Regions from separate parts of the Homo sapiens genome. Here all the other regions are linked to region 1. Evidence: promoter capture Hi-C in human tissues and cell types (Jung and others, 2019). All regions are on one chromosome and are shown on one strand. Each heading gives the region's core, a stretch centred on a gene start or on the middle of the fragment in contact. The rest is flanking DNA. Distances are from core to core; before and after follow the strand shown.

The links. Contacts are between HindIII fragments. The study calls those that stand out against the background at their distance.
Region 2: a contact is called between a fragment that was not itself captured here and the fragment with the promoter of RPL13 in region 1, in 3 of the 25 tissues and cell types used here (H1 embryonic stem cells, IMR-90 fibroblasts and ovary).
Region 3: a fragment that was not itself captured here is called in contact with the fragment with the promoter of RPL13 in region 1 in 8 of the 25 tissues and cell types used here (IMR-90 fibroblasts, bladder, dorsolateral prefrontal cortex and 5 more).
Region 4: a fragment that was not itself captured here is called in contact with the fragment with the promoter of RPL13 in region 1 in 2 of the 25 tissues and cell types used here (heart left ventricle and pancreas).
Region 5: a fragment that was not itself captured here is called in contact with the fragment with the promoter of RPL13 in region 1 in 4 of the 25 tissues and cell types used here (H1 embryonic stem cells, dorsolateral prefrontal cortex, heart right ventricle and 1 more).
Region 6: a fragment that was not itself captured here is called in contact with the fragment with the promoter of RPL13 in region 1 in 2 of the 25 tissues and cell types used here (heart right atrium and lymphoblastoid cells).
Region 7: a contact is called between a fragment that was not itself captured here and the fragment with the promoter of RPL13 in region 1, in 4 of the 25 tissues and cell types used here (aorta, hippocampus, liver and 1 more).

The regions. Positions count from the first base shown.
Region 1 is chr16:89,557,693-89,561,931 of GRCh38, reverse strand. RPL13 (ribosomal protein L13) reads right to left here and starts at 1,250. Exons shown (of 6, transcript NM_000977.4): 1 at 1,220-1,250; 2 at 869-992; 3 at 564-705; 4 at 181-354. The coding sequence starts at 972. SNORD68 (small nucleolar RNA, C/D box 68) reads right to left here and starts at 502; the gene lies at 431-502. SPG7 (SPG7 matrix AAA peptidase subunit, paraplegin) reads right to left here. Exons shown (of 17, transcript NM_003119.4): 17 at 4,166-4,239. RefSeq lists silencers at 668-717, 778-1,047, 2,589-2,808 and an enhancer at 1,158-1,267. The HindIII fragment of the contact is 11,945 bases long and covers 1-4,239 here.
Region 2 is chr16:89,796,144-89,799,100 of GRCh38, reverse strand. The region is part of intron 10 of FANCA (FA complementation group A); the gene reads left to right. Among named protein-coding and RNA genes, the nearest start is that of FANCA, 19 kb to the left of the region's middle. The HindIII fragment of the contact is 7,196 bases long and covers 1-2,957 here.
Region 3 is chr16:89,350,170-89,354,408 of GRCh38, reverse strand. The region is part of intron 2 of ANKRD11 (ankyrin repeat domain containing 11); the gene reads left to right. All of the region lies in intron 1 of LOC128462377, which reads left to right. Among named protein-coding and RNA genes, the nearest start is that of ZNF778, 130 kb to the right of the region's middle. The HindIII fragment of the contact is 8,829 bases long and covers 1-4,239 here.
Region 4 is chr16:89,750,909-89,755,147 of GRCh38, reverse strand. It overlaps FANCA (FA complementation group A), which reads left to right. Exons shown (of 43, transcript NM_000135.4): 31 at 2,926-3,010. Among named protein-coding and RNA genes, the nearest start is that of ZNF276, 31 kb to the right of the region's middle. The HindIII fragment of the contact is 5,421 bases long and covers 1-3,960 here.
Region 5 is chr16:89,377,319-89,381,557 of GRCh38, reverse strand. The region is part of intron 2 of ANKRD11 (ankyrin repeat domain containing 11); the gene reads left to right. The region is part of intron 1 of LOC128462377; the gene reads left to right. Among named protein-coding and RNA genes, the nearest start is that of ANKRD11, 110 kb to the left of the region's middle. RefSeq lists an enhancer at 1-12. The HindIII fragment of the contact is 8,223 bases long and covers 1-4,239 here.
Region 6 is chr16:89,732,766-89,737,004 of GRCh38, reverse strand. ZNF276 (zinc finger protein 276) reads right to left here. Exons shown (of 11, transcript NM_001113525.2): 7 at 3,593-3,703; 8 at 3,448-3,523; 9 at 2,967-3,084. Among named protein-coding and RNA genes, the nearest start is that of ZNF276, 13 kb to the right of the region's middle. The HindIII fragment of the contact is 4,696 bases long and covers 1-4,109 here.
Region 7 is chr16:89,416,076-89,420,314 of GRCh38, reverse strand. It overlaps ANKRD11 (ankyrin repeat domain containing 11), which reads left to right. Exons shown (of 13, transcript NM_013275.6): 2 at 1,947-2,031. LOC128462377 reads left to right here and starts at 2,023. Exons shown (of 2, transcript NM_001416403.1): 1 at 2,023-2,031. The coding sequence starts at 2,023. RefSeq lists enhancers at 1-240, 241-742. The HindIII fragment of the contact is 5,031 bases long and covers 1-4,239 here.

The DNA of each region.
Region 1 (4,239 bases), core at 1-2,500:
GTCCATTAAGGTTATCTCTGCGGAAACGCACAGGTGAACCTTAGCAGTCCCGCTTAGCTCATCACCCACAATGTTTTGGTTCTTCTCACCCCAGCAAGACCCAGGGACCGGTGTCACTGATAAAGGAGCCAAGCCTCACTGTCCCCGCGCACCAGGACGGCCAGAGAGCCGTGTACTCACAGAACTGTCTCCCTTCTTGGGGGCCGAGGGCTTCCTGGGGAAGAGGATGAGTTTGGAGCGGTACTCCTTCAGCCGCTGCACGTTGGCCTGCAGGGACTCCGTGGACTTGTTCCGCCTCCTCGGATCCACAGAAATGCCGATGGTCCGGGCCACCTTCTTGTGAATGCCGGCCACCTGCCCCAGAACCAGAGAGAGATGGAGACAGGCCCGGGCTTTCTCCAGCCCCGAGGCCTGGATGAAAAGCCTCAGCAATCAGATGGAAAAGGGTTCAAATGTGCTTTCATCAAGGCCGTACAGCGATTCCGGAGAATGTCATCACGCGACTGAGGCCAACAGAGGGGACTTCGGGGCCTTCCTGACACCGCAGCGCTGCCAGTACTCACCCTGAGCTCCTCCAGGCTGAAGCCGCGGCCGGCGCGCACCTTCGTGTGGTACCGAACCGTGGGGCAGCGCACGATGGGCCGGATGGGACCCGACGCGGGGCGCGGGGCGATGCGGCGCGCCTTGGCTTGCCGGGCCTTACGTCTGGTGGAGAGAAGCGCAGCGGCGGTCACCCTTGCCTAAGGCCGCCAGGCCAGCGCTCCGCGACGGTTGCAGACAGCGCCCCCCGCCCTGGCATCGGCCACCCGCAAGCCAAGGCGCAGCCGCGGGCACGAGCCCCAGGGGCAGCCCCGAGCGCAGGGCTCACCTGCGGATCTTACGGGCCGGCTGGTTGAACCACGTGGCCACGCGCCGCTGCCAGTCCTTGTGGAAGTGGGGCTTCAAGACCATGCCATTCCGGCTGGGCGCCATGGCTGCCTACGGCCCTGCGGCTGCGGACGAGAGGGGAGCGAGTGAGAGGCCGGACCCCGGGCGCGCGCACCCCCCCGGGCCTCCGCCCCGAACCCTCCAGACTGGGCCGTCCGGCCGCGCCTAGAGCCCGGGCAGCGGCCGAACGCTGTCTGCGAAGAAGAAGGGGCCCATCCACTCCCGCGTTGGCTGAAGCGCCAGGCCGATGGCGCTGGATGATGCCCAAAGGCCAGGACCCAGTCTCCCTCACCTCCTGCGCAGGAAAACAGCCGAGCGGAAAGGAAGCGGCCCCGCAATGCACTCTGGGATGATAGCAGGGCCGGCCAACCAGAAGCGCCGGGCGCTCTGACCAATCAGAGCCCCGAAAGGAGGAACTGACGTCGCCGCGGCTCTCCCGGCAGCCCTAGGGCCGCCGTCGCAGACATGTTGCCGCTGAGAATGCGGCGGGGCGGCCGTGATTCCTGGGCCCTGAGTAACCGACGGCCGGACTTGCTTGACGTCCGCCGTTACTGCCCCGGCGCTTCAGCCGCTGCGCGGGCCGCGGCCGAGTCCTGTCTTGCGGGCTAACGCGCGCGAGTCCGGTATCTGGGCCGACGGCGAACGGGCGACGCCCGAGGAATTCTGTTTGTTCACATTTGTGAGACACGTTTGCAGCGCAAAGGCAGAAAAACTTCAGTGACATCCGAGTTTGCGCAACCTAAGGCCTTCGTCCTTGTCGTTCCAGCGTTTATTCTCCTCCCATCCATTTAGAACATTTGTGGTTTTTTTTTTTGTTTTTTTTTTTTGGAGACGGAGTCTCGCTCCGTCGCCCAGGCTGGAGTGCAATGGCGCGATCTCGGCTCACTGCAGCCTCCGCGTCCCAGGTTCAAGCAATTCTGCCTCAGCCTCCCGAGTAGCTGGGATTACAGGCGCCCGCCGCCACACCCTGCTAATTTTTGGTATTTTAGTAGACGGAGTTACTGTTGGCCTCTGTCGCTTTCCCTTGGCCCAGGATTAGGTGACTTCTCTAAGGTCAGGGGTACCCGACTGAAAATGTCACACTCTGACCTGCTGTGCCTACTGCCTTCCTTCACAAAGAAAAGCATCAACAAAAAGCCATCTCTTCTCTAGTATAAGTCTGTGAAGGCACCATCCATCTTACTGCTACCTGGAAACCTTTAAATCCCAATAACCCTCTTTCTTCCCTACCCTCACCCAATCACCACGCTTCCTCCTGGTAAAACTTATTATTATTTTTTTTTTTTGAGACGGAGTCTCCCTCTGTTGCCCAGGCTGGAGTTCAGTGGTGCGATCTCTGTTCACTGCAAGTTCTGCCTCCCGGGTTCACGCCATTCTCCTGCCTCTGCCTCCCAAGTAGCTGGGACTACAGGCGCCCACCATCACGCCCAGCTGATTTTTTGTATTTTTAGTACAGACGGGGTTTCACTGTGTTAGCCAGGATGGTCTCGATCTCCTGACCTCGCGATCCGCCCGCCTGGGCCTCCCAAAGTGCTGGGATTACAGGCGTGAGCCACCGTGCCTGGCCAACGTAATCCACATTTTAAGAATTTCACAGTTCCAGCACTTTGGGAGGCTGAGGTGGGCGGATCAGCCGAGGTCAAGAGTTTGAGATCACCCTGGCTAAGATGGTGAAACCCTGTCTCTACTAAAAATACAAAAAAGCTGGGCGTGGTGGCGCATGCCTGTAATCCTAGCTACTTAGGAGGCTGAGTCACCAGAATTGCTTGAACTGGGGAGGCAGAGGTTGCAGTGAGCCAAGATCACATTACTGCACTCTAGCCTGGGCAACAGAGCAAGACTCAGTCTCAAAAAGAAAAAAAAGTATTTCACAGGCCAGGCACGGTGGCTCATGCCTGTAAATCCCAGCACTTTGGGAGGCCGAGGCGGGTGGATCACCTGAGGTCAGGAGTTGGAGACCGGCCTAGCCAACATGGCAAAATCCCGCCTCTACTAAAAATACAAAAATTAGCCATGTGTGGTTGTGTACACCTGTAATCCTAGCTACTCCAGAGAGTAGGACAGGGGAATCACTTGAACCCAGGAGGCAGAGGTTACAGTGAGTCGAGACTGCACCACTGCACTCCAGCCTGGGTGACAGAGTTAAGCCTCCGTCTCAAAAATGAAAAATTTAAGAGCTGGGCGTGCTGGCTCACACCTGTAATCCCAGCATTTTGGGAGCCCAAGGCAGGCAGATCACGAGGTCAGGAGATCGAGACCATCCTGGCTAACATGGTGAAACCCCGACTCTACTAAAAATACAAAAAATTAGCCGGGCGTGGTGGCAGGCGCCTGTGGTCCCACCTACTTGGGAGGCTGAGGCAGGAGAATGGCGTGAACCCGGGAGGCGGAGGTTGCACTGACCCAAGATCGTGCCACTGCACTCCAGCCTGGACTACAGAGCAAGATTCCATCTCCAAAAACAAATAATAATTAAAAAATAATAAATTAATTTCACAAAAGGCTTGGCACAGTGGCTCACACCTGTAATCCCAACACATTGGGAGGCCAAGGCAGGAGGATCACTTGAACTCAGAAATTCGAGTCTAGCCCTGTCTCTACAAAAAGTACAAAAATTAGTCGGGCATAATGGTGCGTGCCTGCGGTCCCAGCTACTTGGGAGGCTGAGTCAGGAGGATTGCTTGAGCCCAGAAGATCGAGGCTGCAGTGAGCCGAGATGGCGCCACTGCACTCTAGCCTGGGCGACAGAGCAAGACTCTGCCAAAAACCAACACAACAGCAAAAAAAAAACAATTACCGAGGACACTACCCTTGGCTACACCAGCTAAAACCCTCCCATCGATGTGCTGGTCTTTGGATTTGGAGAACTGGGGCAAAGGTCAAGGCATCTCTCAGAGATGCCACCCTCGGGTGTGTGACTGCACCTGTGGCTGCCTCCTTACTGCTCCGCCAGCGTTTCAGTGTTGCAGCAACAAGAGGACAATCCACTCACGTCACTGCACCACAGGGAGGGCAGAAGCAAGGGGGCCGGAGTGGGAGCCGCATGCCCCGGAACTCAGGGCCAGGGTGTCCTGGGTCGTCTTCTATCCCTACGGGGTCCAGGCCCCAGATTCCTACAGAAGGAGTTTTTCACTTAGTCCCTGCATTACTCAAATTATAAACTGAAACCACAAGACCCTGTGATCCAGGGCAAGCCCACCAGCTCCTCTGCATTAGAGCTGGCCAGACAATGCAAATGTAGATTTTCCAACTACACAGTTTATTAGTAAAGTATCTCAACAATTCTCAGAGCAGTAAAAACCAAGGCATCCC
Region 2 (2,957 bases), core at 1-2,500, 240 kb before region 1:
AGATATTTTAAACACTTCCAGAGCTTCAGCAGCCCGCTCCTGAGCACACTTCCTCTGCCAGTTACGATAACGTGCGTGAGGAGGAGGCGACCATGGGAAAGCCCGGGGAACGCTCTGGTCAGCCTTTTCCTGTGAGGATGAGGTCGGAAGGTGCGCCCACTGCAGTATCCTGTTCCGCCTCTGGAAGTCCTGCACCAATGTTTGTCCCACTCACTGTGACCTCCTCCTGTGTGGAGTCTCCCCTTGCTCCTCCTTCCCTGGGTGTGATTCAGGCTCTAGAGCTGGCCCTGCCTCTCAGCCCCCCACATTTCTAGAACACACTGTAGCTGTGCCTCTACAGACTCCCGCTGCCTGGCCTCCACAGATCCTGCTCAGATTCACCAGTAGGCAAAGCTTGGCCCTATTAGCTTTTTCTCTCCATGGCTCTGTGGAGATGTGCGGAGACCCTTACAGGTCGGGAGGCGGAAGCTGAGGAGTGGGGGCTGGGTGGAAGGTGGACATCGGGGTTTGGTGGAAATGGGGCTCTGGGGTTTGCTTCCCTCTAGTGTGGGCAGGGGACCTTGAAGTGAAGTCTTGAGAAACCAGTAGAATTTGCCACTGTTTCCAGGCCTTGTCAACCTTTTCATTCTTTATTTTGCTCCTCATTTCCCATCCCTCACAGTAACTGTTTAACTGCTCAATTAAATGTGTTGTACCGTTCGGTACTTTTACTGAAACAGTGAATAAAGCACTGTGTGATTTCCTGAATGTTTACATGTGCATCAGTTAGCTTGGGCTGCTGTAACAAAGTGCCAGAGACTGCGGTGTGGACGGCAGATGTGTTCTCACAGCAGTGGAGGCTGGAAGTTGGAGGTCAGGGTGCCCCTAGGGTTGGGTTCTGGTGAGGACCCTCTTCCTGGCTTGCAGGAGACCTACTTTTTCTGTGTCTTCATGAGGTAGAGAGGGGAGAGCAAGCCCTCTGGTGTCTTCTCCGGGCAGTCATCTCATCATCACCTCAGCCTTATCAACACCCCACCTTGAGAGGCTGGGCTTCAACAGAGGAACTTTGTGGGGATACAGTTTAGTCTGTGGCAAGGGCTTTTTTTTATAATCTGTGTGATAAGATTACTCACACTGATGTCCTGAGAGTCAGGTAACAACCACTGACCTGCCGATTTTTATATTTTGTAATTAGTTGCCAATTATTTATTTATTTATTTATTTTTGAGACAGAGTTTTATTCTTGTTGCCCAGGCTGGAGTGCAGTGGTGAGATCTCTGCTCACTGCAACCTCTGCCTCCCAGGTTCAATCAATTCTTCTGCCTCAGCCTCCTGAGTAGCTGGGATTACAGGCATGCACCACCACACCTGGCACAAGCCTATAGTTTTGTATTTTCTATTTTTAAGTAGACATGGGGTTTCACTATATTGGTCAGGCTGGTCTCGAACTCCTGACCTCAAGTGATAACACCCACCTCAGCCTCCCAAAGTACTGGGATTACAGGCGTGAGCCACCGCACCTGGCCTGCCAATAATTTAAAATCAGACATCCTCCAACAGTCTTGGTGGCCAGCTTCCCTTGCACACTGGGGGCTGTGGTGTCCCAAAGCCCTGCCCTGTGAGGAAGGACAGCAGGGCTGAGAAGTGAATCTCCACGATGTCCCACACCCTGTTGTGTGAGTGTCTTGAGTTTGCACAGAGCCGACGTGGCCTCGTTGGGTGTGTGACCCTGGGGCAGTTCACTGAACCGCCAGGACCCTTGATTTTCTTTCTTTCTTTCTTTATTTTTTTGAGACAGAGTCTCACTGTGTCGCCCAGGCTGGAGTGCAGTGGCACGATCTCGGTTTACTACAACCTATGCCTCCTGGGTTCAAGCGATTCTCCTGCCTCAGCCTCCCACATAGCTGGGACTATAGGTGTGTGCCACCATGCCTGGCTAATTTTTTTTATTTTTCTTTTTTTGAGACAGAATTTCGCTCTGTCGCCCATGCTGGAGTGCAGTGGTGCGATCTCTGCTCACTGCAAGCTCCGCTCCCTGGGTTCACACCATTCTCCTGCCTCAGTCTCCCGAGTAGCTGGAACTACAGGTGCCCACCACCATGCCCGGCTAATTTTTTCTATTTTTTTAGTAGAGATGGGGTTTCGTTGGGTTGGCCGGGATGGTCTCGAGCTCCTGACCTTGTCATCTGCCCCCCTTGGCCTCCCAAAGTGCTGGGATTACAGGTGTGAGCCAATGCGCCTGGCCTAATATTTTGGTATTTTTAGTGTAGATGGGGTTTCACCATGTTAGCCAGGGTAGTCTTGATCTCCTGACCTTGTGATCTGCCCGCCTCAGCCTCCCAGAGTGCTGGGATTACAGGCATGAGCCACCGTGCCCGGCTGGACCCTTGATTTTCTTACCTGGGGAATCGGCATAAAGTGCCGCTTGCTGGTTGCAGGTTGTAAGCCTCACGAGAGGGTCTGGGTTTGGTTTGGTGGTCTGTATAGGCCTGCTGGGATGTGGCAGGCTAACAGACCTCAAGTGCTCTTGCCACCTGGCTCTGTGACCCCATTCACCCCCAGAACATCGTGTTCTCTCACACAGATGGCCCAGGAAACCTTAGTCCCTTCCATTCCTTCCTCATCTTCATGGACAGAGCTGGCCTCAGTCCCTGTTGTGACTGTTTGAGGCCCTGGTGTGCTGGGCTCTTCTCTCAGGCTTGGCACGACCCTCTGGGGGAGTTCCGTGTCACAGAGGGTGCCGCTGAGGCCCCGTCGGGTTGGCTCCCGGGGCTCCACTCCCGGGTGCGGCGCGGCCTGCCCTTCCCAACCTGTTTCCTTCTGCTCCACTCCCGGGTGTGGCGCGGCCTGCCCTTCCCCACCTGTTTCCTTCTGCTCCTTCGCTTCTCTGCTCCGTGGGTTTCGCCGTTGCCTTGCCCCCTTTCTCGTTGAACTGCCACCTCCTTGGATTCAGTTTCAAGTCTGTGGTTATAGTGGCC
Region 3 (4,239 bases), core at 917-3,416, 210 kb after region 1:
TTGACTGTGTCAAGCACTTTTTATATTTGGGTATTTGTCTAATGTTAGTAAAATCATTTTTGAGACTTCAAAAAAGATTGACAGTGAGAAGGAAAAGGAGGCTTTTCAAATTCTAGGGTGAGATACAGTGTTTCAACATGAAGTTTTCTTTTTTTTTTTTTTTTTGGCTGAATGCAAAATTTAGTTATATATATGTAAAATTTGTGAAAATGCGTGCCTTGGAAGATTTGAATGGGTAAAGGTATACTTTCCTCCATCTGTGCAGTGCATTATTTAGAAGCAGTGGAGTGACCTTGCAGGCGGCACCTGAGGGAGTGCCAGGCATGGGACTGTTGGGCGGGCAGCTCCCGAGAGCCCTGCAGGGCTGGGTGCTCTGGCTCCCATCAATTATTTACAGACTTGGGGCATTCAGCTGGGCTGGTTCACAAGGCTGGAAGCCAGCTCCGCCTTTATGTCTCCATCTCTGCCCGCCGCCCCTCACCCTGTGGCAGACATGCCCCACGCTCCCTGCATGAGAGGCTGCAGAGGCTGCTCTGTCTTGTTTCGGGTGTCTCAGGGCTGATGTGTGTTGTGTTCCCATAGTGGCTGTTGATCATGAAAAACATTATGTTCCATAAGATATGTGACCAGTTCGGGCGTAGTGGCTCACGCCTGTAATCCCAGCACTTTGGGAGGCCCAGGCAGGCGGATCAGCTGAGGTCAGGAGTTCGAAACCAGCCTGGCCAACATGATGAAACCCTGTCTCTACTAAAAATACAAAGAAATTAGGCAAGCGTGGTTGTGCATGCCTGTAATCCCAGCTACTAGGGAGGCTGAGGCAGGAGAATTGCTTGAACCCGGAAGGCGGAGGTTGCAGTGAGCCGAGATTGCACCACTGTACTCCAGCCTGGGTGACACAGTAAGACTCTGTCTCAAAAAAATGAAAAAGTGACCAGTTCCTTGTAGTTGCCTTGGACTGGTGTTCCTCTTACTGCTGGTATTTCCAGCTCTACTTTTGAGATCCTCTGGAGAAATAAATAGAAACTTTGTTTACTTTCTCTCTCTCTCTCTCTCTCTCTTTTTTTTTGGAGTTGGAGTCTCACTCTGTCACCCAGGCTGGAGTGCAGTGGCGCCATCTTGGCTCACTGCAACCTCCGCCTCCTGAGTTGAAGCAATTCTCCTGCCTCAGCCTCCTGAGTAGCTGGGATTATAGGCGTCTGCCACCATGCACGGCTAATTTTTGTATTTTTAGTAGAGACGGGGTTTCACCATATTGGCCAGGCTGGTCTTGAACTCCTGACCTCATGATCCACCTGCCTTGGCCTCCCAAAGTGCTGGGATTAATTACAGGCGTGAGCCACCGCGCCCAGCCCTACTTTCTCTTGTTATAATTTTAACTCAGTGTTAGGGTGAAGTAAATGGATCCTGTAAAGTTAATATATTCAAGGTTTAATGTTTTCCATAAACTTTTCTGAAGTATGTTTGTTTTAAAATAATTTTGTTGTAGTGACCCCCTTTGCTTAAACATGCCGTGAAGTAGAACAAGCCGTGAGAGAAAAGAGGGAAAGGACAAGATGCTGACAAAGCAGGTAGGGGCCCTGCTTGGGGGCCCATGTGGTCATCTTGAAGGAGGGCAGCAGCACATAGGAAACGCACTCAAGAATCTGCCTGGCTGAGCACACACATTTTCAGAGGCAAGCGGGACTCACCCAGCTGAGGCTTCAATAAACTGGTGAATTGGGTGGAGAAGGGCCAGGCACAGAACACTTTGGTGCTGATGAGTGGAGCGGACAGAGCTTTTACCCTTCAAAGATCTACCACAGTGTGTGTGAGATCTGGATGGGCCAGGGCGAGAGGAAGTGGCCCTGACAGGGGCCTCACTCTTGGGGGCAGGGCTCGCTCACTGTGTTGAGCTTGCCAGAAGCTCTGAAGGGTGTGAGCCTTGAAGATCTGCCCTGACATTCCTCTGTGCCCAGCATCAGCAAGTGCCCTCCTGCCACTGACCTGAGAGCAGGAGGGCGTCACTGTGGCCTTCTGCTTGGTTTTCTTGGGGGGCTGCCTTGAGACATTGCGGTGCCTAGACCCCTGGCTTCTTGACTTGCCTTCCCCCAGGGCTCTGCACCGCGTGGCGTGATGCATACCTGGCCACTGTGAGATCCAGTCCTTAGGACAAGTCTTGTCTCGTGTCCAGCATTCCATCCCTAGGGAAACGTGTCTCATGCTTTTCAAAGAAGATAATCGGCCAGGTGCAATGGCTCACGCCTGTGATCCCAGCATTTGGGAGGCTGAGGCAGGCGGATCACTTGAGGTCAGGAGTTTGAGACCAATCTGACCAACATGTTGAAACCCCCGCCTCTACACAAATTACCTGGGCCTGGTGGCTTGTGCCTGTCATTTCAGCGGAGGCGTGAGAATTGCTTGAACCTGGGAGGCAGAGATTGCAGTGAGCCACGATCGCACCACTGCACTCCATCCTGGGCGACAGAGTGAGACTGTCTCCAAAAAAGAGATAATACCAGCTTGATTGAGAGGATTGACAGACCGTAGGCTTACCCAGATAAAGCGCACAGTTCAAAGGTTGTTAGTGTATTCACGGGTCTGTTCAACCACCAGGACTGTCAGTTCTAGAACATTGCTGTCACCTCAGAAAGAAACTTGGACCTTTAATCGTCACTCCTTGTTCCCCCTGCAGCCTCTGCGTCCTCTCTGAGTCTGCTGTTCTGGTCATTTTGTGTCCATGGAATTGCATGCTGTGTGGCATGACACGAACCTGCGCCCAGGTCACAGGGCCTATGTCTGCAGTGCCCACAGCAGCATTGCCTCAATGCCAAACACAGAGAGAAGCTTCGTCTCCATGCCTTAACTTACAGACCTGCCCGAGAGTCTGTATCCAGTGTTTTCTTGAAAAAGTTCGCTAGGATCCTCTTTGAATACGTATATTTATGAAATGAGAATCAGTTATTTGGTGTAGTGGGTAATGAATGCCTGGAGTGATTTGCGGAGGTAGTGGAGGGTGTGTGGTGAAGTCAGCCACCTGCTCAGTATCAAGGACAGCCTCATCCTGCTCCTGTTGGGATCTGGTCTTCCTTCCCTAGGGCCATGGATGCCATCCCCTTCAGGAATGTATTCTGCTTTTCCAGATGTGTTTGGCGGCCTGTGGGCGTGGGGTGATGGGCATTCAATTTCATTCTTTGCCGTGGAACCCCTCGCCCATGCCCACCACCAGCTGCCGCCGCCGCCTCTCTGCTTTTCTTCACAACAGTGCTCTTGACGAGCTCTTGTGCCCGCCATCGTCCACTCCCGTGCATTCTCTCTGAGAGCTTCTTTGAGGTACAGTTTAAATACTTTGGAATGCATCAATTTTAATAGCGGTCGGGGGATGCATCCTGAGAAATGCGTTGTTAGGTGATCTTGTCCTCTGAGCATCACAGAGTGTGCGTACCCAGATCCAGAAGGCAGAGCCTCCCACACACCTAAGCTACATGGTAGAGCCTGTTGCTGAGTCACCCTGCTGAATCGTGGAAAGAAATCGTAACACAGTGGTAGGTGTTTATGCCATGGGACCCGTTCCACTCCATTAGCATCTTATGGTAGCACATACCACCATCATGAATGTGGCCTGTTGACCACACTCAACATGAGCATCATGTTGCTCATGACTACAGATGTGAGAGTTTTAAGGAATCAGTTGGAACTGTCTTGTTCCCACCATCACAGTCATGATACAGAGTAGTATTTCCATCACCCCAAGAAAGTTCCCCCTTTCCTCTTTGCAGCAGCATGTCATCCTATTTCCTGGACCCAGGATGCTGATGTGCTTTCGGTCACTGTAGCTTTTGCTTTACTAGAATTTAATATGAATGGAATCATTGAGTGTGGACTCTTGTGTCTGGTGTGTTTCATCTTCCTTTTGAGATTGATCTGGGTTCTGTGGTGTATGTCAGTAGTTTACTGAGTAGCTTTTTAGGGGGTAGATATGTCGCATGTTCATCCAATAAGCAGTTATAGACATGTCCGTTGTTTCCTAGTTTTAGCTGTTGGGAGTCAAGCTGATATGAGTAGTTGCATGCAAAGCATCAGATGGCTGGATGTGGTACCTTTTCTGGGTCTGGGTTTCTCGGTCACATGTTACATGAATGTTTAACTTGTTAAGAACCTGCCAGACTCTTTTCCAAAGTGACCACTCAGTTTTGTGTTCCCACCAGCGTTGAATGGGAATTCCATCTGCTCTGTCCTTGCCGTTACATGGTGTAGTCCATC
Region 4 (4,239 bases), core at 1-2,500, 190 kb before region 1:
TGTTGAAAACACTTCTTTCCCCACTGAATGGTCTTGGCACCCTTGTCAAAAGTTAGATGGCTGCTCGTGTGAGGGTTTGTTTCTGGCTCTCATTGTGTTCCCTTGGTCTGTATGTCCATATGCACTGCGTCATTGGGATGAAGCTTTGTAGTAGGTTTTAAAATTGGGAAGTGTGAGGCCTCCAACTTGGTTCTTCTTTTTCAGGATGGTTTGGCTTTTCTAGGTGCTTTGTAGTTGTGTCTTAATTTTGGGATGAGCTTGTCAGTTTCGACAAAAGTAGCTGGGACCCTGATACGGACTGCATGTGGGGCAGTATTGCCATCTCAGTGATAGCGAGTCTTCTTTCCTTTTGAATCATTTGTTGCTAACGTATAGAAACACCAGTGATTCTTGTATATTCATTGGCTCTAGTCATTTATTAGTTCTAAGAGTGTTTTTGTATCGATTCCTTAGGGCTTTGTATATATAAGATCGTGTCTGGCCAGGCATGGTGGCTCATGCCTGTAATCCCAGCACTTTGGGAGGGTGAAGTGGGCGGATCATGAGGTCAGGAGTTGGAGACCAGCCTGGCCAACATGGTGAAACCCCATCTCTACTAAAAATACAAAAATTAGCCGGGCATCGTGGTGGGCTCCTGTAATCCGTTACTTGGGAGGCTGAGGCAGAAGAATCACTTGAACTCAGGAGGCAGAGGTTGCAGTGAGTTGAGATCATGCCACTGCAACTCCAGCCTGGGCGACAAGAGTGAAACTCAGTCTCAAAACAAAAAAACAAAAGAAAGATCATATAATATGTGAAGAGAGATAGTTTCACTTTTTCCTTTCCTATCTGGATGCTTTTTCTTTTTCTTGTTGAATTGCCCCGGCTTGAACTCCCCGGGCAGTGTTGTTTTTTTTGTTGTTGTTTTGTTTTGTTTTTTTTTTTCTGAGACGGAGTCTCGCTCTGTCACCCAGGCTGGAGTGCAGTGGTGCAATCTCGGCTTACCGAAACCTTCGCCTCTCAGGTTCAAGCGATTCTCCTGCCTCAGCCTCCCGAGTAGCTGGGATTACAGGCACCCGCCACCATGCCCAGCTAATTTTTGTTTGTTTGTTTTTGAGACAGAGTGTCGCTGTGTGTCCCAGGCTGGAGTACAGTGGCACTATCTCAGCTGTCTGCAACCTCCGCCTTCCAGGTTCAGGCAATTCTGCTGCCTCAGCCTCCCAATAGGTGGGATTACTGGCGTCCGCTAACACGCCCGTCTAATTTTTGTATTTTTAGTAGAGATAGGGTTTCGCCACATTGGCCAGGATGGTCTCGATCTCCTGACCTCAGATGATCTGCCTGCCTCGGCCTCCCAAAGTGCTGGGATTACAGGCGTGAGCCACCGTGTCTGTCCCCAGTGCAGTGTTGAGTAGAGGCAGCGACACTGTTCTGAGTGTAGAGAGGACATCCTTGTTGCCCCTGATCTTAGGAGAACAGCTTTCAGTCTTTCCTCATTAAATCTGACGTTTGCTGTGGGTTTTCATCCATGCCAGGCACTAGATTGAGAAGATTTCCTTTGTTCCTGGTTGATTGAGTGTTTTTATCACAAAAGGATGTCACATTTCGTCAAGTGCTTTTTCTACATCTATTGAGATAATCTTACGGTTTTTGCTTTTTATTTTATTGATAACTGCGTTATATTGGTTTGGGGATCTTAAGCTATCCTTGTGTAGGGACCAGCCCCGGAGGGTCGGTGGGTCTCTCCCTGTGTGCGGCGATGAGAGAGTGTAGAAATAAAGACACAAGACAGAGATAAGAGAAAAGGCAGCTGGGCCCGGGGGACCACTACCACCAATGCGCGGAGACCGGTAGTGGCCCCGAGTGTCGGGCTGCGCTGTTACTTATTGGATACAAGGCAGAAGGGGCAGGGTAAACAATGTGAGTCACCTCCAATGATAGGTAAGGTCACGTGGGTCACATGTCCACTGGACAGGGGGCCCGTCCCTGCCTGGCAGCTGAGGCAGAGAGGGAGAGGAGACAGAGAGAAAGACAGCTTACGCCATTATTTCTGCATATCAGGGACTATTAGTATTTTCACTAATTTGCTACTGCTATCTGGAAGGCAGAGCCAGGTGTACAGGATGGAACATGAAGGTGGACTAGGAGCATGACCACTGAAGCACAGCATCACAGGGAGACGGTGAGGCCTCCGGATAACTGCGGGCGAGTCTGACTGATGTCAGGCCCTCCACAAGAGGTGGAGGAGCAGAGTCTTCTCTAAACTCCCCGGGGGAAAGGGAGACTCCCTTTCCCGGTCTGCTAAGTAGTGGGTGTTGTTCCTTGACACCTTTTGCTACCGCTGGACCACGATCCGCTTGGTGACGGGCGTCTTCCCAGACGCTGGCATCACCGCTAGACCAAGGAGCCCTCTGGTGGCCCTGTCCGGGCACAACAGAAGGCTCGCACTCTTGTCTTCTGGTCACACCTCAGTATATCCCCTCAGCTCCTATCTCTGTATGGCCTGGTTTTTCCTAGGCTATGATTATTGAGTGAGGATTATCATAATATTGGAATAAAAAGTAATTGCTACCAACTAATGATTAATGATATTCATATGTAATCATATCTAAGATCTATATCTGGTATAACTATTCTTGTTTTATATTTTATTATACTGGAACAGCTCGTGTCCTCTGTCTCTTGCCTTGGTGCCTGGGTGGCTTGCCACCCACATCCTTGCATTCTTGGGATAAGCCTCCTTGGTCATGGTACATAATTTTTGTATTTCCTAGGTTGGGGTTGGTAGTATTTTGTGGCAGTTTTTGTTGTTTATTGTTGACTAATGTGAGGGTCACACTGTCAGAGAAGCACAGCCATCACTCAGCTCCGGAGGCAGGAGGAGAACTGGGAACTTCAGCACTATTAGGCGATACTGAGGAGGATTTTATTGTATTTTCATTTCAGCTCAAGGAGTTATGACCACTCAGAAAATTCTGATTTGGTCTTTGGTGGCCGCACAGGAAATGAGGATATTATTTCCAGATTGCAGGTGAGTTTGAGGGTGCCACAACTCAGTGCATTCACTTCATTTAAGCCGCGTGCTATTAAGATATTTATTGCCAGGCGCGGTGGCTCACGCCTGTAATCCCAGAACTTTGGGAGGCCGAGGCAGGCGGATCACACAGTCAGGAGATCGAGACCATGCTGGCTAACACGATGAGACCCCGTCTCTACTAAAAATACAAAAATTTAGCCGGGCGTGGTGGCGGGCACCTGTAGCCCCACCTACTCGGGAGGCTGAGGCAGGAGAATGGCATGAACCCAGGAGGCGGAGCTTGCAGTGAGCCGAGATTGTGCCACTGCACTCCAGCCTGGGCGGGCGACAGAGTGAGACTCCGTCTCAAAAAAAAAAAAAAGATATTTATTGTTGGCTCAGGCTTGTAATCCCAGTACTTTGGGAGTCCGAGGCTGGTGGATCACCTGAAGTCTATACAGGTAGGCAGCATGTACCTGTGTGGGTTCACTGTCAGTCAACAGGCATTTACTGGTGCTGGCCACCCGTGCGTCTTCTGTGCCAGGCCCCTGTCTCTCCCTCCGCCAGCTCTGGGGCCTCCCAACTCCTTAGCCAGATGCTTTCCCTAGACCCACCTGGCTCCTTCTCAGTGAGACCATCTGCTTTTTCCTCTTAATTGTAATCATAATTATTATTATTATTGGGACAGGGTCTTGCTCTGTCACCCAGGCTAGAGTACAGTGGTGCGATCATATCTCTCTGCAGCCTTGACTTCCTGGGCTCAAGCAATCCTGACAGCGTGCACCTGTGTGCGCCACCACACCCAGCTGATTTTTTGTAGAGACGGAGTTTTGCCATGTTGCCCAGGCTTGTCTCGAACTCCTGGGCCCAAGTGAACCACCCATCTCGGTCTCCAAAATTGTTGGATTACAGGCGTGAGCCACTGCACCTGATCTTTATTCTTCTTTAAAAAATACAGCCGGCCAGGCACGGTGGCTTATGCCTGTAATCCCAGCACTTTGGGAGGCTGAGGTGGCTAGATCACTTGAGGTCAGGGGCTCAAGACCAGTTTGGCCAACATGGTGAAACCCCATCTCTACTAAAAATACAAAACACTAGTCAAGCATGGTGGTGTGTACCTATAGTCCCAGCTACTCAGGAAGCTGACTTAGGAGAATCAGCTGAGCTCGAGAGTCAAGGCTGCCATAAGCCAAGACTGCACTGCCGCACTCCAGCCTGGGCAACCGGACTGAGACTGTCCTAAC
Region 5 (4,239 bases), core at 1,273-3,772, 180 kb after region 1:
TTAGAAAATCATAGTGCATGTTTTATAAACTAGAATGCTTACCCTCATTTTGCTTTTTATTGATGATTTAATGTTGGGGCTGTTACAATGTGAAAAGCTCTTGCTCCTTATACAATAACCCTAAACTGGTAGGTGTTGGTGTCTGGGAGTTTCTTGGTGTCTTGCTTCTAATAGTCTGAACTCTTGCTTGCCCTTCTCACCCCTTTTTTTTTTTTTTTTTTTTTTTGCAGCAGAGTCTCGCTCTGTAGCCCAGGCTGGAGTGCAGTGGCGCATTGTCGCCTCACTGCAACCTCCGCCTCCCGGGTTCAAGCAATTCTCCTGCCTCAGCCTCCCCAGTGGCTGGGATTACCGGTGCACACCACCATGCCCAGCTTATTATTTTTATTTTTTAATTTTCAGTAGAAATAGGGTTTCGCCATGTTGGCCGGGCTGGTCTCAAACTCCTGATCTCAAATGATCCACCTGCCTCGGCCTCCCAAAGTGCTGGGATGACAGGCCTGAGCCACCTCGCCCAGCCGCCCTTCTCATCCCTTTTTGGATCGATTGTTTACCGTGTGCTCAGGGGCTTCACTCGGAGCCCCTTAGAACCTTGCCCAGCAGAGTGGGCCCACACTGGGAAGCAGGGATGCGTGCTCCGTCTGCCTGCCTCAGCTGTCCTCTGCCCACGACCTCTGAGCTGCATTGCCCCGTGTAGGCCTGGTCACCTTTGGGGCCGGAACTGCACACACTCCTTCCTCCCATAAGCCCCAGTGCTCGTGGTGGTTACGCAGCCCTGCTGCCCGTGCAGGAGATGCCCCACGAGGCCTCCAGCTTCTTCTCTGCCTTTGCTCACTTCTCTTCCCTGGAAAGCAGGCAGGTACTCGTCAGGCTTTCCTTCATTTATTTCTAGAGTTTCTGCAGATCTAGAAGCCTGTCTCCTATTGGTTATTGTCTTTTAACAAAGACCTGTTTGGCATTACACAAAAAATGCTTTCACAAGTCCCAAGGCAGCGGGCAGGTCCTGGGGCTGCTCTTCGTGCCCTGTGTCCCGTTTCTTATGCAGGTGGAGACTGCTGGTCGTTCTCTGGAGTAGCCCCAAGGAAGCTATCTGAAGGCTCAGGGAGCTCTAATCCACTTAGGAGAAAAGGAGTTAAAATGGCATCATTGGGCTGGGCACAGTGGCTCACACCTGTAATCCCAGCACTTTGGGAGGCCGAGGTGGGTGGATCACCTGAGGTCAGGAGTTTGAGACCAGCTTGGCCAACATGGAGAAACCCCATCTCTACTAAAAATACAGAATTAGCCAGGCGTCGTGGCACATGCCTGTAATACCAACTACTCGGGGGGCAGAGACAGGAGAATTGCTTGAACCTGTGAAGTGGGTGTTGAAGTGAGCCGAGATCACGCCATCGCTCTCCAGCCTGGGTGACAGAATGAGACTCTGTCTCAAAAAGAAAAAAACAGGCATCATTGTTTTGCAACTGGGGTACCAGAAATAACATCTTTCCATAGTGAATTTCTGGTGGCAGAGGAGCTTCATATATACCCATTGATACTTGGACCTGGACTGAAGCTTGAGGGGTTTGGAGATGCAGAAAATAGTGTTTGGTAAATAGAGATGAAAGTGTGTGTTTTGAGAAATGATGATTGGAAAACTGAAAAGGTCAGTGTCTGCAGCCATGTATTTCTTTCTAAATTTTTTATTTTTCTGCATTTTCAAAAATTATATTTTTTGGGAAATTATTATGTATACTCTTCTTGCTGAACAGAATGTTAAAAATACAGCTGACATCTTCTTTGCCCGTTGTACTCAGTCCAAGTTCTTTGTGAATCACAAGAACCAACACGTTCTTCGCAAATCCGTGCACTGCACGGAGCTCTTCCGTGCTGCTTGGGGCGCTCGCGTCCCAGTCACCTGGAGGTGGGAGGCAGAGAGCAGTGGTGGAGCAGAAAACTGTAAGCTCAAGTTGGAGCCAGGAGGCTGAGGCAGAAGTGTCACTTGAGCCCAGGAGGTTGAGGCTGCAGTGAGCCGTGACTGAGCTCTGTCTGGGCGACAGAGCAAGACTTTGTCTCTTTAAAAAAATGTTCAAGTTGGACTCCTGGAAAGCAGAGTTACATGAGCTGGTTTTGGATGCCCTGACAGGGTGTGGAGCAGGAGGCCCCTGTGGGCCTGTTCCCCATGGTCAGCTTTCGACATATAATGAAAGCCCCGTTCACTGGTAACACTTGATTTGAGCCATTTAAAATTATTTTATAAAATTGTTGTTCCACTTAGGAACTGGCACAAGGTCTTTGTGAGAAAGCCCTAAGTTTTCAAGATAGGATTAAAAAAGCATGAGCCTGTGACGCACATACAGACGGTGTGCACCCCTTCTAGCCCGCCGGCTGCCAGCAGCTCCCAGAATGGCCGTGTGCCGGGGCAGGCATGGGGGCCGGCCCCACCTTCTAGAAGCCAGTGAGAAAGGCCTTCCTGGGGCTGGTCCGCACTGCCGACGTTCTGGGCATGGACGACCCTAAGTTTTCAGTTCTAAGCGACAGTGAATGCCTCAGCCCGGCTTGTCTACGACTGCAGGAGGCGTCTTGACGCTCCCCAGTGTGCCGTCAGAACCTTGACCCAAAAAGGTCTTCAGCCTTGGAAAGCCCTTCCCACCTCGCCCCACCCACCAACCCCTGAAGAGGTTTTCAGCCTTGGAAAGCCCTTCCCCACCTCGCCCCACCCATCAACCCCTTAAAACATGGATAAAAGAGTTTTAAACCACAGCGCCTGAAGTTTGAGACCAGCCTGGCCAACATGATGAAACCCCGTCTCTACTAAAATACACAGACAAAAAATTAGCCAGGCATGGTGGCACACACCTGTAATCCCAGCTACTCGGGAGGCTGAGACAGGAGAATTGCTTGAACCCAGGAGGCAGAAATCTTTGTGTACACCAGTGTCTTCAAACAAGAGAAGCTACTTGAGCACTTGCTAGTCATGCTGGCCAGTTGTGTGTTCTCAGCCAGACTATTTCCAGCCTGCTGTATCTGTAGCCTTATAGCACGTACATTTAGCTTAATATCTTTAAAGCTCTACGTTTTTGCTATTTTCTGAGGAGGTTTTTGTGGTTAGGCTTCAATGCCATGATTTGAAATTATTATCAAGAATTACAAATCAATATTGACCTAATCAATATGGTTGACATACACGTTGATGAAATCATTATATATGTTTGGTCCTTGAACAACTTGGGGATTAGTGGCACTGACCCCTGGTACAGTCAAGTCCACATATAACCTTTTATACCCCGAGTATTTAATTTTGTTGACCAGTGCCTTCCTGATCACATAAACAGTCAACACATTTTAATCCAACACTGACATATACAAAGCACTTTTTTTCCCGCTTCTTAAAGAGACAGAGTCTCGCTTGCCATGTTGCCCAGGCTGGTCTCAAACTGCTGGGCTCAAGTGATCCTTCCGCCTCGGCCTCCCAGTGCACTGGGATTATAAGTGTGAGCCACCATGCCCCTCATATTTTATATGTCGTATGTATTGTATACTGTATTCTTACAGTAAAGTAAGCTAGAGAAAAGAAGGTGTTGTTAAGAAAATCATAAGGAAGAGAAAATATGTTTACTTCTCATTAAGTGGAAGTGGGTCATCATGAAGGTCTTCATCCTCATCATTTCATTGAGTAGAAGGAGGAGGGGTGGTCATGCTGTTCTCATGGGGCGGGGGTGGAAGAGGTAGAAGGGGAGGCAGGAGAGGCAGGCGCATTTGGTGTAACTTACGAAGTGCTTTGTCATTTCTCTAGAAATGTTCCTGTATGGTCACAGTCCTCCCTCACTGTTGGCTTTAGTTTCAGTGCCCATGTCACAGACAGGTGTGTGTTGTACAAGAAGTTAAAAGCGGGTGGGAGTCGTGGGAACCCCTCCCCTCTGCAGGAGTGTCTGATGTCACTTTGTTTTCTGTCACTGCTGCTACCTCCTCCTCGTCACCTGGTGTGGGTCAGAAGCACTCATCACCACCAGGTTGTCTTCTAATTTCTCTGGTGTGGTATCTCTTAGCTCTTGAGTTTTGAAATGAAACCCTTCATCCCTCCCCGCCCCCCAGCCCTCCTGCCCCGGCCCACATGTCCGCAGTCTCTTCATGATCTCCTTGATTGGCTGTTGTAAACCCTGTGGAATCACACACAACCTCCAGACATAGTTTTCTCCAGCAGGAGTTCATTGTTTTGGGTTTGACAGCTTTCATGGCTTTCTCTATAACAATGATGGCATC
Region 6 (4,239 bases), core at 512-3,011, 170 kb before region 1:
TCCACATCTGTCAAGCCCTGAAACGCTTCACAAGACAGACTTTTCTCTTCGAAGGGAAACCCTATCTTGGCATTTTACTCTACGCTGTTCTTTTTTTTTGAGACTTGAGTCTTGCTCTGTTGCCCAGGCTGGAGTGCAACAGCCCAATCTCAGCTCACTGGAAACTCCACCTCCCAGGTTCAAGGGATTCTTTTTTTTTTTTTTTTTTTGGAGACAGGGTCTTGCTCTGTTGCCCAGGTTGAAGTGCAATGGTACAATCATGGCTCACTATAGCCTGGAACTCCCAGGCTTAAGTGATCCTCCTGCCTCAACCTCTCAAGTAGCTGGGACCACAGGTGTGCACCACCACACCCAGGTAATTTAAAAAATTTGGGGGGCCGGTGCAGTGGCTTACACAAAGTGCTCAATCCCAGCACTTTGGAAGGCCAAGGCAGGCGGATCATGAAGTCAGTTCAAGACCAGCCCCAGCCCAATCAATATGGTAAAACCCTGTCTCTACTAAAAATACAAAAATTAGCCAGGTGTGGTGGCACACACCTGTAGTCCCAGCTACTCGGGAGGCTGAGGCAGCAGAATTGCATGAACCCAGGAGGTGGAGGTTGCAGTGAGCTGAGATTGCACAGCTGCACTCCAGGCTGGGCGACACAGACTGTCCCGGAAAAAAAAAAAAAAATTGGGGGCTGGGCACGGTGGCTCATGCCTGTAATCCCAGCACTTTGGGAGGCCAAGGCAGGCAAATCACCTGAGGTCAGGAACTCGAGACCAGCCTGGCCAACATAGCAAAACCTGCCTCTCTACTAAAAATAGAAAAATTACCCAGGCGTCATGGCTCACGCTTATAATCCCAGCACTTCGGGAGGCCGAGGCAGGTGGATCACAAGGTCAGGAGATTGAGACCAGCCTCACTAACGTGGTGAAACCCCGTCTGTACTGAAAATACGAAAAATTAGTTGGGTGTGGTGGCCAGCACCTGTAGTCCCAGCTATTTGGGAGGCTGAGGCAGGAGAATGGCTTTACCCCAGGAAGAGGAGCTTGCAGTGAGCTGAGATTGTGCCACTGCACCCCAGCCTGGGCGACAAGAGCAAGACTCAGTCAAAAAAACAAACAAACAAACAAAAAAAAACACCCCCGGCGTGGTGGCAGATGCCTGTAATCCCAGCTACTCAGGAGGCTGAGACAGGAGAATTGCTTGAACTAGGGAGGTGGAGGTTACAGTGAGCCAAGATCGCGCCACTGCACTCCAGCCATGGTGATAAGAGTGAGACTGTTTCCATCAATAAATTAAAAAAAAAGTTTTTGGTAAAGACGGCCTCACTATGTTGCCCAGGCTGGTGTCAAAATCCTGGCCTCAAGCAATCCTACTGCCTTAGCCTCCAAAGTGCTGCGATTACAGGCATGAGCCACTGCACCCGGCCCAATTTCAGGTTTTTAAGGAACTGCTGGTTGTGACCATCAGTGACCGGACAGATGCAGAGTCTGAAGGACCAAACCCAAGGAAGTGCTGCCATCAGGAGAGATGTCGGAGAACCCAAAAAATAACAACCCGCATGTCGGGAGATGACCCAGCAGTGAAAAGCAATCCTAATGAAAAAATACTTCAGTAAATTCAAGTAAGAATAAATAATTCTTATTCTGTAATAAGTTCAAAACCAAGGAAAACTGTGTGTGTAAGGATCAATATACAGTTGTCCTCAGCTGGTTCCAGGCCCCCCCCCACCCCTTACCAAAATCTGCTCATACTGAAGTCCCGAAGTTAGCCCTGCAAAGACCCTACAGAACCTGCACTTAGGAAAAGGCAGCCCTCTGAATACCAGGGATTCGAGTCCCTGACCATGGATATGTGGGTCCACGTGGTTCAAACAAGTTTTTTTTTTGAGACAGTGTCTCACTGTTGCCCAGGCTGGAGTGCAGTGGTGTGATCTCGGCTCACTGCAACCTCCACCTCCGCCTCCCAAGTAGCTGTGCCTACAGGCGTGTGCCACCACACCCAGATAATTTTTGTATTTTTAGTAGAGACCAGGTTTTACCATGTTGGCCAGGCTGGTCTTGAACTGCTGACCTCAGGTGATCCACCCACCTCAGCCTCCCAAAGTGCTGGGATTACAGGTGTGAGCCACCACGCCCGGCCAAGTTTGTCATTTTGAAAACATATCCTTGTTGGATTATAAAAGTAACTTGTGCATTATAGAAATTGTGAAAAATAAGACGGGCACAGAGACAGCACCCTCAGTCATAATTCCCCCATCCGCCTCCGGTCTTAATGACACGACCTACACACATGTGAAAAGGCAGAACCACACGTGCCTCCCGCCTGTCCACGTGGGCAGCTCCCCAGAGCTGGTGTGCCTTCATGCCTTCTGCCTTGCCTTTTAAGATACACTTGTTTGGGCCAGGTGCAGTGCTCACACCTGTAATCTCTGCACTTTGGAAGGCTGAGATCACTTGAGGTCAGGAGTTAGAGATCACCCTGGCCAACATGGTGAAACCCCGTCTCTACCAAAAATTACAAAAATTAGCCAGGCATGGTTGCGGGTGCCTGTAATCCCAGCTACTTGGGAGGCTGAGGCGGGAGAATTGATTGAACCTGGGAGGCAGAGGTTGTGGTGAGCCAAGATGGTGCCACTGCACTCCAGCCTGGGCAACAGAGCAGGACTCCGTCTCAAAAAAAAATTAAAAAATAAAATGACCAATTTGCAAAAGGACACCAAGATTGCTTGGCTATTAGTTTTGACAAACTGCCTAGATCCTGGGGAAGTCAGGAATTCCTTCCATCACAGGGAAGGGCAGATTCACACTGACGCCCTACTCTAGCCTTCATCTACCAACGTGACTGAGTACCAAAGACCCCATGAGCCACCTTCACGCACCCCCAACTCTTGGGGCGGGGATGGGTATGAGGAAGACTGGAAAGCAGGTCACGTGCCCCTGGCTGTCACCCGCGTGGGCGACACTGGCGATAGGCGTACCTGTGTGGATGAGCTTCACGTGGCGCTGCAGGTAGCGGTCGATCATGAAAACCTTGTTGCAGCCAGGGTGGGGGCAGGGCCGCTCCCGGACCTCCTCGTGGTGCTCCTTGATGTGCTTCTGAAGGAGAGACTCGGTGAGAGACCCTCAGAGCCGCACCCGGGCCACATGGCACGAGCCCTCAGTAGGTGACAGCTGAGGCCCCTGGAAGGCAGATCCAACTCCTCCTCCAGCGACACCACTGGCTCCTTCACAGCTTCACTCCAAGAAACTTCTAGACCCCCCGGGGGGTGTCTCAAGTGAAAGTCTGGCCTCACATCTACCCCCAAGGATGGCACTGGCTAGGACTGCTTCAGGTCTCGGTTAACCTAGGTCAAAGTGTCCTTGGGCGCAAGTCTGAGTTAGGCTGCAGAAACACCTGCTACCTCCCCCAGGTTCACACTGACAGCTGCCGGGCCTGGGTCAGGCACAGCCAGTGCTCACCTTCATGCCGTCAGCGCCTCGGTACACGGCCGTGCAGCCCTGGTAAGGACACTTGTAGATGGTGGGAAGCTCCTCCCTGCAATGAAGAGCATGCATGGAGCCCCGGCCCCGACAGGCAGGGCGAGCCTCGCGTTGCAGGCATCACCTCTCACAACGAAGCTTCTTCTTCCATCCGGGCTTGGGTCCCGGCTTCTTCCGAATTCTTGGTTCTTCAGACTTCTTGGCTTCTTTGCTTTCACTCTTCTTACCAGAGACTCTGAAAAAAAGAGGTTCCCAAATTCAATGGTTTCTGATCTCCATTTGCAAAATGTTTTTTGTCTCTCCAACCTGAGAAATGGTCTTTTCTGAAGCTTCCCTGAGTTGCTTCTGTGCTGACTGACCCTCAGAATCTACCTGAAGCCACCAAAGCCAGAGCAACTCTGGACAGGAGGCCTCAGGGGCGAGCACAGCAGAGGGCAAGGGCGCAGGACACAGCAGGGTCAGGGGTGAACACAGCAGAGGGCGAGGGCGCAGGGTACAGCAGGGTCAGGGCAAACACAGCAGAGGGCGAGGGCGCAGGGTACAGCAGGGTCAGGGCGAACACAGCAGAGGGGGAGGGCACAGCAGAGGATGAGGGCGCAGGGTACAGCAGGGTCGGGGTGAACACAGCAGAGGGCGAGGGCGCAGGGTACAGCGGGGTACAGCAGGGTCAGGGCGAGCACAGCAGAGGGCAAGGGCGCAGGACACAGCAGGGTCAGGTGAACACAGCAGAGGGTGAGGGCGCAGGGTACAGCAGGGTCAGGGTGAACACAG
Region 7 (4,239 bases), core at 1,054-3,553, 140 kb after region 1:
GTGGCAGTGAGCTTGCAAATCGTTGGACTCATGATGCTTTGAGTGCTCTCAGGACTCTGGAGGTCGATGCTGGGGTTCCTCGCTGGCTTCCTGCTGCTGATGCTCTTCCCCTCTCTGAGCTCTTTTACGGAAAGCTTCGTGGCACACTTGCTGCTTTTCACTGAAACCAGGCTGTGTGGTGACTAGAAGCTGCGTATTCACATTTATTTTTATTGATTGATGGATTGAGGCTGCTGTGCAGTGGTGTGAGTAGCTCCGGCTACAGGCGCACGCCACCATGCCCAGCTAATTTTTTGAATTTTTTGTAGAGATGGGGACTCGCCGTGTTGCCCAGGCTGGTCTCCAACTTCTGGGCTCAAGCAATCCGCCTGCCTCAGCCTCCTGAAGTGCTGGGATTACAGGCGTGAGCCAGCGCACCCATCACACACTTATTTTTAATGGTCCTTGAGGTTAATGGCAGCTTTGAACAATCCTGTCCAGGAGTGTAAGGAGGAAAAACCTCACTCCATCTTCCAGGAGTGTAAGGAGGAAAAACCTCACTCCATCTTTGCAAAACGCATGTGCCAGGAGTGTTGCTCAGGAAACACGCGATTCTCTCGGATGCTAAGTGCAGAGCCGGGGAACCCTGCACCAGCAAGCCCTGTCCTGGGAGCTGCCTTCAATCCTGTCTGTGCTTCCTTCCCTGGTTCTGCACACGGAAGTGTTTGGAGTTGGAGGAGAGCCTGATGTTTGGATGGGACTGAAGTAACATGGGTATAGATTTTTTTTCCCCCATTTAGACTGGTTTGTTTTATTCTTGGAGTCCCCAGAGCTCTTCAGGGAAATTATATAGTTTTATTCAGCTGCCTTTTTTTTTTTTTTTTAAGACGAGTTTCGCTCTGTCACCCAGGCTGGAGTGCAGTGGTGCAGTCTCAGCTCACTGCAACCTTTGCCTCGCAGATTCAAGTGATTCACCTGCCCCAGCCTCCCAAGTAGTTGGGGTTACAGGTACAAGCCACCACACCTGGTTAATTTTTTGTATTTTCAGTAGAGACGGGGTTTTGCCCTGTTGGCCAGGCTGGTCTTGAACTCATGACCTCAAGTGATCCGCCCACCTCGGCCTCCCAAAGTGCTGGGATTACAGGCGTGAGCCACCATGCATGGCTTTATTCAGCTTTTTAAAAAAATGGTACTGCAGTATAATCTTTTCCTCTTAAAATACTCAGTGGAAATGAAAACCACCTTATCTTTTTTTGCACCTTTTATGTAGTTTAAAACTTAATATGCTTCTTAAAGTTAAAATTAGCCTTTTAAGGCTGGGCATGGTGGCTGACGCCTGTAATCCTAACACTTTGGAAGGCCGAGGTGATTGGAACACCTGAGGTCAGGAGGTCCAGATCAGCCGGGGGTGGGTGGCGAGCGCCTGTAATCCCATCTACTCGGGAGGCTGAGGTAGGAGAATCGCTTGAACCCAGGAGGGGAGGTGGAGGTTGCAGTGAGCTGAGATCACGCCACTGCACTCCAGCCTGGGGGACAAGAGTGAAACTCTGTCTCCAAAAAAAAAAAAAAGGCCTTTTAAAAACTTAGCTTACTGGTAATGTTTTGTTTCTGTGGCGAGATTGCCCACTTGGGTTATTTGGTTTCTTACGTATAAAAAGCCCCAGAGCCTCTAAAATCTGGTTTTATGGTGATTTCACAAGATTGTATCAGTGTCATCTACTCTTTTTTGTGCTGGACTTTGGATTTACCTTTAAGTTGTTGCAATTGCTGCATTGTGACGTAAAGGTATTTGATGAATGAAGTTAAGTTTTGGCCTTGGCACAGTGACCAGGAGCTGAGCAGTGGGTCATGGGAGAGGAAGGGCGATGGAATAAACCGTGTGGACCAAATGGAGGGAGACGAGAGCGATGAAAGAACTGAGGCTGAAATTATTATTGACATGAGCTAATCTCACTCTCTTGTTTCAGAATATATACAGCCCTGCTCTGGGACACACCTCCATTGGATTTAAAAGACAGTCCTCGTCAGCACTGACTTTCAGCTATGGAATCGGTAAATACTCACTGCATTCTCTATCAATTTATGTTTTTGTCATTGATTTGTAAAAATAAGTATCAAAATAATGCGTGAGTGTCCAGGTTGGTTTTCTTGGACTTGATAGAGTTTTGTCGAAATGTTGTGAATTTTGTTCTGGATTTCACTTAGAGTGTATTCAGAGTGGTAACAGGTAAGCATTTTTGGATTAATGAATGGGATCCTTGGTGTCACAGTGAGAAGAAATCTGCTGAAAAATTAAATAGGTTGTTAATAGCCTATAAAAGAAGTTTATTTCCTCTTGTCCTCCTTTAATTTTCTTCATCCTCAGATGGTCTGGTGATGACTGAGACCCCCACCCTGTGCTGTGTGTTGTGTGCTCTGAGCATGTTGTGTTAACAGTTTGCGTGAGGATTCTGTATCCTGGGAGCTGTTCTGCTCGTTAGGATCCTGGTGGTCTTGCCTGGTTGTCCTTGGATGAGGATTCTGTATCCTGGGAGCTGTTCTGCTCGTTAGGATCCTGGTGGTCTTGCTGGGTTGTCCTTGGATGAGGATTCTGTATCCTGGGAGCTGTTGTGCTCTTGTTAGGTTCCTGGTGGTCTCGCCGGGCTGTCCTGTGCTTCTGGGCATAGTGCTGTTGCTGAACCCTCTAGATGGCTATTCTGGCTTTTCCTAGGAGCTGGAGACCAGTGTGTATGGTTGGCAGGTAAGGAGTGGGAGCCTGGTTCGCCAGCCCTGACTCCTTGCCTCCTCCTGGGAGTCACTGGCATGTTTTTTGAGAGGAGCGGCAGCAGTCTCCAAAAAGACTTTGGCCTTGGCTCTGAGCAAGCACGTGTCGCTGTAGGGCAGAGTCCTCCCTCCTTCCAGAGACGCATGGTGAACTGGCAGGTTATTTTCTCTGATATGTGGATTGACAGCAGTTGAAGAGAAAACTTGGCTAAATTAAATTTTCATATTTTGGCCAGGTGTGAGTCATGGTTTTAAAGTGAACATTCCAAAAATACATAATCTGTTTTGTGTTGTTACTCCCAGCAAACGTGAAAGAACCTTTCCTGCAGCTTCTTTCGGGAGCTTCATAGTTTGGTGTATCTGTTCCTTATCTCAGTCGCCTGGAGTCAGGCCACTTTAAAATACACCTGACTGCTTTCTTTCATATGACTGAATTCTTTCCTTGGAAATAGAGGTGAGGTTTGAAGGAAAGGGAATCTGAGATATCCTTGAAAATAGGTCTAGAATTGTCTTCTCTTAATCTGTGGGATGGTTTGTAGTTAGAATGAAGCCAGCCTGGGTAGTGGGCATGTTTGTGATCAGGTGAGACATTTTTCAAGATCTGGAGGTGGACTGAGCCTGGTTGTGATAAAAGGGGTGCCATGGAGGGGCCAGGTACATGGGAAAAGGGGGGCAGCGATGAGGGAGCACCCCACACCCCAGGGTCTGAGCTGTGCCTCTTTGTGAAAAGGATACTGCTGACCTTAATGTATGACAAGGAAAAGCAAAATGCTGCATTTTCTTTTTTTAATTTTTTTTTTTTTTTTGTAGAAACAGAGTCTTGTTACGTTGTCCAGGCCTGTCTTGAACCCCTGCTCTCAAGCAATCCTCCTGCCTCAGCCTCCCAAAGTGCTGGGATTACAGGTGTGAGCCACCACACCTGGCCAAAATGCTGCTTACTAGTGTGAAAAATAAAATTATTAATCAGCAATTAGTGGCCAGGCACAGTGGCTCACGCCTGTAATCCCAGCACTTTGAGATGTCAAGGTGGGTGGATCACTTGAGGCCAGGAGTTCCAGACCAGCCTGCCAACATGGTGAAACCCCATCTCTATTAAAAATGTAAATATTAACCGGACGTGGTGGCGAATGCCTGTGATCCCAGCTAGTTGGGAGGCTGAGGCAGGAGCGTTGCTTGAACTGGGAGGCGGAGGTTTCAGTGAGCCAAGATCACAACACCGCACTTGAGCCTGGGCGACAGAGCAAGACTCTGTCTCTGGGGAAAAAAAAAAATCGATGGATTCAAAATACAGGCTTCTCTGATTAAAGGGGAGCAAGCTATCAGCAACTCTGCTGACAGGACCTGGAATTGGCCTAAATGTCTAGCACTCTAGTGGATTGAGAACAATAGATGTACTGATACTTAGGTTTGATGACATAGGAAATGTTGGCATTTTTGACCATGCCACAGTAATAATCTAAGGTGTTTAATGCCATTTGTCACTTTTGTGAACTATAG